Regions from separate parts of the Homo sapiens genome. Here region 1 is linked to region 2. The links are contacts of gene promoters, found by promoter capture Hi-C in human tissues and cell types (Jung and others, 2019). All regions are on one chromosome and are shown on one strand. The core of a region is centred on a gene start or on the middle of the fragment in contact, and the rest is flanking DNA. Distances in the headings are between cores, read along the strand shown. Region 1 has its middle 16 kb from the start of MYBL2. Region 2 holds the start of DBNDD2 (dysbindin domain containing 2).

Region 1 (4,954 bases), core at 473-2,972, 1.8 Mb before region 2:
TTACAAGCGTGAGCCACCGCGCCCGGCCTACAAATTTGTAAACTCTTAAAACATTATGAGGCCAGGTGCAGTGGCTCATGCTTGTAATCCCAACACTTTGGGAGGCCAAGGTGGGTGGATCACCTGAGGCCAGGAGATAGAGACCAACCTGGCCAACAGGATGAAACCCTGTCCCTACAAAAAATACAAAAATTAGCCAGGTGTAGAGGCCTGGTACGGTGGCTCATGCCTGTAATCCCAGTTCTTTGGGAGGCCGAGGTGGATGGATCACTTGAAGTCAGGAGTTCAAGACAAGCCTGGCCAACATGGCGAAAACCTGTCTCTCCTAAAAATACAAAAATTACCCGGGTGTGGTGGTGCAGGCCTATAATCCCAGCTTCTCAGGAGGCTGGGGCAGGACAGTCGCTTGAACCCCAGAGGCAGAGGTTGTGGTGAGCTGAGGTTGTACCACTGCACTCCAGCCTGGGCAACAGAGCAAGACTGTCTCAAAAAAAAAAAAAAAATTAGCCAGACATGGTCAGGCATAGTGGCTCATAGCTGTAGTCCCAGCTACTTGGGAGGCTGAGGTGGGGAAAATCATTGAACCTGGGAGGCAGAAGTTGCAGTGAGCCAAGATCACATAACTGCACTCCAGCCTGGGTGACAGAGCAAGACTGTCAAAAAAAAAAAAAAAAATTAAGAGATAGATGTGTTTATTATTATTTTTATTTTTATTTTTTTTATTTTTTTTAAGAAGGAGTCTCGCCCTTTTGCCCAGGCTGGAGTGCAGTGGCGCTATCTTGGCTCACTGCAAACTCCACCTCCCAGGTTCATGCCATTCTCCTGCCTCAGCCTCCCAAGTAGCTGGGACTACAGGCACCCACCACCATGCCTGGCTAATTTTTTGTATTTTTAATAGAGACGAGGTTTCACTGTGTTAGGCAGGATGGTCTCGATCTCCTGACCTCATGATCCACCAGCCTCGGCCTCCCAAAGTGCTGGGATTACAGGTGTGAGCCACTGCACCCGGCCATTATTATTATTTTTTTAGCTCATCAGCCATTGTTAGTGTATTTTGTGTGACCCAAGACAATTCTTCCAATGTTGCCCAGGGAAGCCAAAAGATTAGATACTCCTGATTTAGAAGCTGAGCCTGGGGAACAAAAGTGAAAGTCCATCTCTACAAAAATGAAAATTAGCCAGGTATAGTGGCACACACCTGTAGTCCCAGGTATTTGGGAGACTGAGGTGGCAGGATTGCTTGAGCCCAGGAGTTCAAAGCTGCACTAGCTATGATCATACCACTGCACTCCAGAATGGGCCACCCATGCTTCTTCCCTGTCCTCTGGCTTCCTGAAGCACTCAGTTCTATCATCATCTTGGGTTATAATGTAGGGCCAAATTTAATCATCTGTTCCAAGGAGGCTAGAGGGTATTGTCATGGGACAATGGGAGAGACTGCACCTGTCAGAATGGTGCAGTTGGTGTATAGAAATGCACAGCAGTGTACTGACATACACAGATAACCAGCTTTGGGGAACTCTGAAAGCCAGATGGAAGGTTGCAGAGCCACTGAGGATAGGAGAGGAGAGAAGGGAGAGGAGAGGAGAGGAGGGGAGGGGAGGGGAGGTGGGAGGAAAGGGGGGAGGGGGGAGGGGAGGAGCAATTCCCATTGCTGCACAATGGGAATAGTTTAGCTGGTGGGTTCTATAAAGATGGGAATGGTAGAAGGATGGTCATTTACAGAAGAGTTTGATACAACCCCAAGAGCAAATAATAAGGATGTGGACTAAGGTGGTATTATAGGAAAGGTGGCATTTTGAAACACTTTGGTCTGGGTGTTGAAAGTTAGATTGGCAAGATTTGGGGCTTGATTTCCTGGGACAGTGGGGGCAGCTATTAAAAGATGGGGAGTCTAGGCCAGGCACGGTGGCTCATGCCTGTAATCCCAGCAATTTGGGAGGCCGAGACGGGCAGATCACCTGAGATCAAGAGTTCTAGACCAGCCTGGCCAACATGGTGAAACCCCGTCTCTACTAAAAATACAAAAATTAGCCTGGCGTGGCGGGCGCCTGTAATCCCAGCTACTCAGGAGACTGAGGTGGGAAAATTGCTTGAACCCGGGAAGTGGAGGTAGCAGTGAGTCGAGATCATGCCATTGCACTCCAGCCTGGGTAACGAGGGAAACTCTATTAAAAAAAAAAAGATGGGGAGTCTGAAGGATGAGTGGTTTTGGAGCATAAGAGTCCAGTTGAGACTATGGCAATTAATACAGGTGGAAATAACTAGTAAATGGCTGGAAATCCCTAATTTAGGCTTAGAAAAGATGTCCAGTCTCAAGAGTGGAGTTGTTCATATGGAGTGGTTAATTAAAGTCATGAGAATCATTTGTCAAAGAGTAGTGTTAGAAATTTAAAAGCTTGGGAAGAACAGCTCAAGTCAAATCCTGAGTTTCAAATGATTTCTTCATGGTAAAGCTCTGTTCATAGGCTTCCATTCTCTCCCATACTCAAGCCCTAGTACACGGCTTATTCAGAGTTGCCAGCCAGGGCAGGGCACTGGGGAACGGGGAAGCCACTCCAGGGGCAGAAGAATTTGGGGGCTCTAGCTCAAAGCTGGGAGATAAGCAGCTAGAGGACAGGCCTGGGGAGTGCTGTGGCAGTGTGTTCCAAATACATACCCAAAATGTGTTCAATGATTGTCTCCCAACCCAAATGCTCTTCTCTTATCCTGTGGGCTTGATGCTCCTCCCATTGAGAGGTGGGGTCTCTGTTCCCTCCTCTGAATCTTTGAATCTGGCACCGTGGCAGAAGTGATGCTGGTGACCTCTGAGGCTAGTTCATAAAAGGCTATACAGCTTCTGCCTGGTTATCTTGGGACATTCACCTTTAGAACACAAGCCTCCATGTAAGAAGTCCAAGGCCACGTGGATAGGCCATGTATAGGTGTTCTGGCCAACAGCCAGAGATCTCAGTCTATACCAGCATCTTGGTATAAATCGCTTGCCAAACATGAATGATGATACCTCCAAATGACTCCTGGCCCCAACCATCAAGCACCTCAGCCTTTTGTCATCCCAATTGAGGTCCCAGATGTCATAGAGCAGAGACAAGCCATCCCTGCTGTGTTCTTTGTGAATTCCTGACTCCCAGAATCCATGAATATAATAAAATGGGAAGGAAGGTGTGCCCTCACTGCCATTTTGTTATATTTGTTTTTATTTTTATTTTTGTTTTTTTGTTTTGTTTTGTTTTTTGAGACAGGGTCTCATTCTGTCTCCCAGGCTGGAGTGCAGTGACACAATCTCAGCTCACTGCACCCTCTGCCTCCCAGGTTCAAGTGATTCTCCTGCCTCAGCCTCCCCAATAGCTGGGATTACAGGCACGTGCCAACACGCCTGGCTAATTTTTTGTATTTTTAGTAGAGACAAGGTTTCACCATGTTGACCAGGCTGGTCTCAAACTCCTGACCTCAAGTGATCCACCCGCCTCGGCCTCCCAAAGCGCTGTGATTACAGGCGTGAGCCACTGCGCCCAGCCTTGTTTTTGATTTTTTTGAGACAGGGTCTTGCTCTGTTGCCCAGGCTGAAGTGCACTGGTGTGATCATAGCTCACTGTAACCTCAACCTCCTGGGCTCAAGCAATCCTCCTGCTTCAGCTTTCCGAGTAACTGGGACTACAGGTGTATGCTACCATACCCAGCTAATTTTAAAAAATGTATTTTAAAATACATTGAGTGGCTGGGCGCAGTGGCTCATGCCCGTAATCCCAGCACTGTGGGAGGCTGAGGGGGGCAGATCACGAGGTCAGGAAATCGAGACCATCCTGGCTAACACGGTGAAACCCCATCTCTACTAAAAAATACAAAAAAATTAGCCGGGCATGGTGGCAGGCGCCTGTAGTCCCAGCTACTTGGGAGGCTGAGGCAGGAGAATGGCGTGAACCCAGGAGGCGGAGCTTGCAGTGAGCGGAGATCGGGCCACTGCACTCCAGCCTGGGCGACAGAGTGAGACTCGTCTCAAAGAAAAGAAAAAAAAAAAAAAAATATATATATATATATATATATATAGAGAGAGAGAGAGAGAGAGAGAGAGAGTCTTTCGTCTGAGCCGCCAAAATGCCATCCAGACTGAGGAAGACCCAGAAACTTCGGGGCCATGTGAGCCATGGCCATGGCCGCATAGGCAAGCTCCAAAAGCACCCCAGAGGCCACAGTAATGCTGGTGGAATGCATCACCACAGGATCAACTTCAACAAATACTACCCAGGTTACTTTGGGAAAGTTGGTATGAGGTATTACTTAAAGAGAAACCAGAGTGGCCGGGCGCGGTGGCTCACACCTGTAATCCCAGCACTTTGGGAGGCCGAGGCGGGTGGATCATGAGGTCAGGAGATCGAGACCATCCTGGCCAACAAGGTGAAACCCCGTCTCTACTAAAAATACAAAAAATTAGCCGGGCACGGTGGCGGGCGCCTGTAGTCCCAGCTACTCGGGAGGCTGAGGCAGGAGAATGGCGTGAACCCGGGAAGCGGAGCTTGCAGTGAGCCGAGATTGCGCCACTGCAGTCCGCAGTCCGGCCTGGGTGACAGAGCGAGACTCCGTCTCAAAAAAAAAAAAAAAAAAAAAAAAAAAAAAGAGAAACCAGAGTTTCTGCCCAGCTGTCAGCCTTGACAAATTGTGGACTTTGGTCAGTGAGCAGACACAGGTGAATGCTGCTAAAAACAAGCCTGGGGCTGCTCCCCTCATTGATGTGGTGCAATCGGGCTACTACAAAGTTCTGGGAAAGGAAAAGCTCCCAAAGCAGCCTGTCATTGTGAAGGCCAAATTCTTCAGCAGAAGAGCTGAGAAGATTAAGGGTGTCAAGGGGACCTGTGTCCTGGTGGCTTGAGGCCACATGGAGGGAGGTTCATTAAATGCTAACTACTTAAAAAAAACAAATAGGCCAGGTGCAGTGGCTCACGCCTGTAATCCCAGC
Region 2 (5,309 bases), core at 952-3,451:
GGCAGGGGTCCTCCGCCGCCTTGCACCTGCCCTGCTGGGCGGCACCGGGTCAGTGCCCTGCCCCCTCCTGCGGGTCCCAACTCTCTCTTTCCCATCGTGCGTCCTCTGGAGAAGTGCGCGCGTGTAAGTGTGGCGAGTGTGGCCAAGGGTGCCGGAGGCAGGGTTCGGGTGCGTAGTCGTTGCGTGGGCGCTGCCCAAAAGGCGCAGAGCATCAAGTGTGCGTGGGCAGAACCGGCGCGGGCGCCCGCCGCGGGTCTGCGCGGGGCGGGGGCGCAGCAAGTGCATCCGAGCGAGCGGAGACTAGCGCACCGGCGTCGGTGGCGAGGGTGGTGCAGAGGAGTCCGGCTGGGCGGAGGGAGGAAGGATGGGTGCGGGTAACTTTTTGACCGCCTTGGAAGTACCAGTAGCCGCGCTCGCAGGGGCTGCCTCCGACCGCCGGGCGAGCTGCGAGCGAGTGAGCCCGCCACCGCCCCTCCCCCACTTCCGCCTCCCGCCTCTTCCTCGTTCCCGGCTCCCAGGGCCCGTCGGTCCCCCGGGAGCCCTGGAGGCGCAGCCCCACCCCGGCCGGCGCGGCTCGCTCCCACGCCCCCGCCGCGGCCTCGCTGGAGCGGACGGACTGAGTCAGAGGGGGCGCCAGCGCTGCAGGTAGGGGCTCCGGCGGCGGTGGGCGCAGGTGCCGCGGTGGACCGCGGAGGGGACCGGAGCACGAGGGGAACGGCCTTGGGGGAGCGCCCTCCCCCCGTCCTCCGCCGACGCCTCGTGTCCCTTTTTAGGGAATTTTTTCCCTCTTGCTGGCTCCAGTGCGGGTGGGGCTGAGACCGAGAGGGAGTTCTCCATTTCGCTGGCTCCTGCCCGGCCCCTGGCAGCCTCCTGCCCCCAAATCTCTTCACCCCCTTTCCAGTACCTATAGGTCGCGTAAACAACTCCCTTTCTCCAGCTCTGGGCTCCGCGGCCCCCCGGGGGACAGCTCCTTCAGTCTCGTGAGATCGGTGGGGTTAGGGGGAGGGGAAAAGAGAGGGGGTGTCCCAGAGCCCCTGGCCCCCGTCAGCTCCCCCACCTTGGCCTCTCCCTCCCCCTCCTCGCTGCTGGAGCACAGGCTCCAGGGGCCCTGGGTATTTTTAGCGTTGTGACCTGGGCGGCAGCTCTAAGAGCCTTTCCCGGGAATCGGCGTCAGCGCCTCGCTCCTCCGCCGCCAGCCCGCGGCCGCACGGTCTCCCCAGACTTCCGTGGCCCTGCCTTGGCCAGTCGGGGTTGGGTCCCTCTCCACCTCTGTGGCGCCCGTGGAGCTGGCCAGGGTCTGGGATACGCTGGGTGCAGATGAGGTGGGGAAGGCAGTCTGCGGAGGATGACGTCTGATCCTCAAGCTAGAAACTCCCTTGCCTCTGGTGATGGGCTCAGAGCAGAACGCCGGGAAGGAGATGAGCGAATGGGAATGAATGCACCGACCTGGGCTGGCCCATAGCCTCAGTGCTCTGGCAGGGTCTCAGCTTCTCAGCCCTAGGGGTCAGGAGGCCTGCTCTGAACTGGACCCAGAACCCGCCTTTCCAATTGCTCCTCACTGACTAATGGGGAGATAAGTCAGTGAGATGTGTCCCAGGAGGGGGACGCATAAAGAGCTGTTGGAGTTCAAAGGAAAGATGGTAGTCTCCTAAATAGCTCACCTTCACAAGCAGGGTCTTGTATTTGAGGCAGGTAGGTTGGTTATGCCATTTTCAGATGGGGAGACTAAGACCAGAAAGGTGATTTCCTTAGGGGCAGAGCCTAGTCTGGAAGTCAGGCCTGTGACTTCAGAGCAAGGGTTTGGGGTAGATGGCACATGCGTGTGTACGTGTTTGTGTGGGTGGAGAGAAAAGGAGGGGCGCGGGAGGAGTTGCTTTAGCCTTTGTCTGGGTTTTGAAGGATGGGAAGGGGTGGGCTGCAGCACTGGAGGAAGGGAACCCTCCACCCTGAGATCTCTGTCTCTATCCTATCCTGTCCCTGGCCTTCTGAGGCAAGCGGGGCCAATTAAGGGGAAAACGTACCTCCTCCATTTGTGCTGAACCAATCCCTCCAACCCCTCTCAGGAGGGCATGATATGGAGAGTTGGGCATTGGCTGTGTTCCCTGAATACAGAGTATCTCTCTTGTGGTGCCTGGAACTGGCATCCCCTTTGTGGAGCTTAGGGCAAGCCCCGCCTCTGCATGAGACTTGGTTTGTGGGACACACTTGGTTTCAGGGAAGGGGAAAGAGGTCACCAAGGGCAGAGGTGTCCAGGCCGGAGCCAGGGGCCCCACTGTTGGGATGCTGGCTGCAGTGGGGCGCCCCAAGCCCAGGTCCCCTCTGTCTTCTCTTTCGACTTTGCAGCTGTACTTGTTTTGCTCCTCTACCCGCAGGAGCTGACATGGACCCAAATCCTCGGGCCGCCCTGGAGCGCCAGCAGCTCCGCCTTCGGGAGCGGCAAAAATTCTTCGAGGACATTTTACAGCCAGAGACAGAGTTTGTCTTTCCTCTGTCCCATCTGCATCTCGAGTCGCAGAGACGTAAGTCCCAAGTCCTGAGAAGAGGGACTGGGGTAGGGTAGGGAGGATGTCCTGTGGGTCCTGAATCTTGTGGCACTCTCTCCCCTCTGGTTTTCTTGGCCCTCTATGCTTCTAACTTGGGACCTGACATGTAACTCTCACTGTCCTGGTGTGCAGCTTGGGTCCTCCTGACTTGCCCACTTCTTGATCCGCAGCCCCCATAGGTAGTATCTCATCCATGGAAGTGAATGTGGACACACTGGAGCAAGTAGAACTTATTGACCTTGGGGACCCGGATGCAGCAGATGTGTTCTTGCCTTGCGAAGATCCTCCACCAACCCCCCAGTCGTCTGGTATGCCCCTCTGCTTTGGGGACTTCAGTGCCAGTCAGCCAGAGCCGGATGTCAGGCTCTGAAACGAGGCTACAAGGCTGGGCTGGGGAAGTACACAAGTAAGGGCTGGAAGTGGGTGTTTCTACCAATGAAACAGCTGCCTGTTCTGATTTTAGGGAAGTTGACCCTGAGGGAGAACTGGGTTACACATCTCTAATCCAAAATTCTGGGAACGGTCAATCTCTTCTTTAATTTTACATTTGTTATATTAATATAATTAGTCACTATAATTAAAATAATGTAAAATTGTAATTTTTATATTTGGCAACTTAAGTAGTTTTAGTCATTATAATGATATTAATATGTATTGAGTACTTTAGTAGGTTCCAATACTGTACTAAAGTACTTTACATATATTATCTCAATCCTTACAACGTCCTGTCAGGGTAGGTGATATAATCTCTATTTTATAAGCAGGAAATTAGGCTCAGAGAAGTTAAGTCACATTGTAGCCAGAAGGTAGATAAACTGGAATTCATGTCTGTCTGACTCCAAAGCCCATATGCTTAACTTGTAAGATAGATATTCTTTTAATTAAAACTGCTACTATTTATTGATGGCTTACTATGCCAGACATTTTATAAGCATTCTTAGGTTTTATTCCCAAAACCCTTTGGGGATGTAGGTATCCCTTTTATTTTGCAGAGGAGGAACAGAGTCCTTGAAAGGGAAAGTGACTTGCTCAAAGCCACTCAGCAGCAATAAGTGATGTAGGTGGAACTTGAACTCTTGCCATTCATTGACCTGACTGTAGATCCCAGACATGGTGTAATGACGTGGAAGGAGCTGGCAGTCAGGAGATGGTGATCTTAATCCTGGCTCTTTGCTGGATTGGCAAAGTCACTTTGGACAAGTCTCTGCCCCACTGTGGACTTTAGTTACTCCTGGCCAGATAATCTTTAAGAGTTCTCTGAAGCCCTGTTTGTGGCCTGACCAGCTTTTCTCTCTGGGCAGGGATGGACAACCATTTGGAGGAGCTGAGCCTGCCGGTGCCTACATCAGACAGGACCACATCTAGGACCTCCTCCTCCTCCTCCTCCGACTCCTCCACCAACCTGCATAGCCCAAATCCAAGTGATGATGGAGCAGATACGCCCTTGGCACAGTCGGATGAAGAGGAGGAAAGGGGTGATGGAGGGGCAGAGCCTGGAGCCTGCAGCTAGCAGTGGGCCCCTGCCTACAGACTGACCACGCTGGCTATTCTCCACATGAGACCACAGGCCCAGCCAGAGCCTGTCGGGAGAAGACCAGACTCTTTACTTGCAGTAGGCACCAGAGGTGGGAAGGATGGTGGGATTGTGTACCTTTCTAAGAATTAACCCTCTCCTGCTTTACTGCTAATTTTTTCCTGCTGCAACCCTCCCACCAGTTTTTGGCTTACTCCTGAGATATGATTTGCAAATGAGGAGAGAGAAGATGAGGTTGGACAAGATGCCACTGCTTTTCTTAGCACTCTTCCCTCCCCTAAACCATCCCGTAGTCTTCTAATACAGTCTCTCAGACAAGTGTCTCTAGATGGATGTGAACTCCTTAACTCATCAAGTAAGGTGGTACTCAAGCCATGCTGCCTCCTTACATCCTTTTTGGAACAGAGCACGGTATAAATAATAAACTAATAATAATATGCCAACCATTCGACTTCATTTTTCATATTGCAAAGATATCAAACCCACTACATGTCTTTAGCTCTCTAACCGATCCCATATTCCTATCACTCACTCATTCCATTTATTCAAGAAATGTTTATGGAACACCCATGCTAGGCATCTGGAATACAGTTTTGAGCAAGACAGGCTGTACTGTATACCTGCCTTCATAGAGTTTACTGTTTATGGAGGAGAAAATCAAGTAAATACTACAATTCACAGTGTAATAAATAGCATGATGAGGAACTACTCTGGTACCAGAAAATAGGGGCATGTTAACCTAGTTTCTATGGTCACTGAAGAGCTGTTTTTAGCTGAAGGACGATTGGGAGTTAGCCAGGCACAGTCCGTAAGCCAGGCAGAACGAGCAGCTCGTGAAGACTTTAAACGGAGAGAGCATATCCTTGAGGAGCTAAAAAACATTGCGTTTGGCTGAATTGTTGGATTTGAGGAAATGAAGGGAGAGTTAAGACTGACAAAGGTCAGGTTGTAAAATCCGTTGAAGCCTGGATCAGGTTTCAGTTTGACAGCTAGTAAAAGATCATGACTTAAGATATAAAGTTATTTCCTCATATAGAAGTTAAAAAGTACAGGTCTACATGAAAGCTCCATCGTTACTCAGCACTGGGCTCCTTTTTTGCTCTTTTGCACATGGTTTGCATTCTTAGCAATATCTCACATCTAAGGTGGCTGTCAAAGCCCCAGCCATCATGACCTTGAGACTGGCAGAAAGCAGGAGAGGAAATGGGGGATGGGCAAAGAGGGCACAGCCA

The links. The method cuts DNA at HindIII sites, captures the fragments that hold promoters and counts their contacts. A contact is called where the count stands out against the background at its distance.
Region 1: a contact is called between a fragment that was not itself captured here and the fragment with the promoter of DBNDD2 in region 2, in 1 of the 25 tissues and cell types used here (spleen).

What each region holds. Positions count from the first base shown.
Region 1 is chr20:43,648,428-43,653,381 of GRCh38, forward strand. It overlaps the pseudogene RPL27AP. Among named protein-coding and RNA genes, the nearest start is that of MYBL2, 16 kb to the right of the region's middle. The HindIII fragment of the contact is 6,998 bases long and covers 1-4,954 here.
Region 2 is chr20:45,406,088-45,411,396 of GRCh38, forward strand. DBNDD2 (dysbindin domain containing 2) reads left to right here and starts at 2,202. Exons shown (of 3, transcript NM_001048225.4): 1 at 2,202-2,519; 2 at 2,714-2,851; 3 at 3,845-4,520. The coding sequence starts at 2,381. The coding sequence ends at 4,053. It overlaps SYS1-DBNDD2 (SYS1-DBNDD2 readthrough (NMD candidate)), which reads left to right. Exons shown (of 6, transcript NR_003189.2): 4 at 2,373-2,519; 5 at 2,714-2,851; 6 at 3,845-4,523. It overlaps LOC107985404 (a long non-coding RNA gene), which reads right to left and starts at 1,802. Exons shown (of 5, transcript XR_007067608.1): 1 at 1,662-1,802; 2 at 27-345. LOC107985405 (a long non-coding RNA gene) reads right to left here. Exons shown (of 2, transcript XR_001754640.2): 2 at 4,488-5,309. RefSeq lists an enhancer at 790-1,339. The HindIII fragment of the contact is 23,713 bases long and covers 1-5,309 here.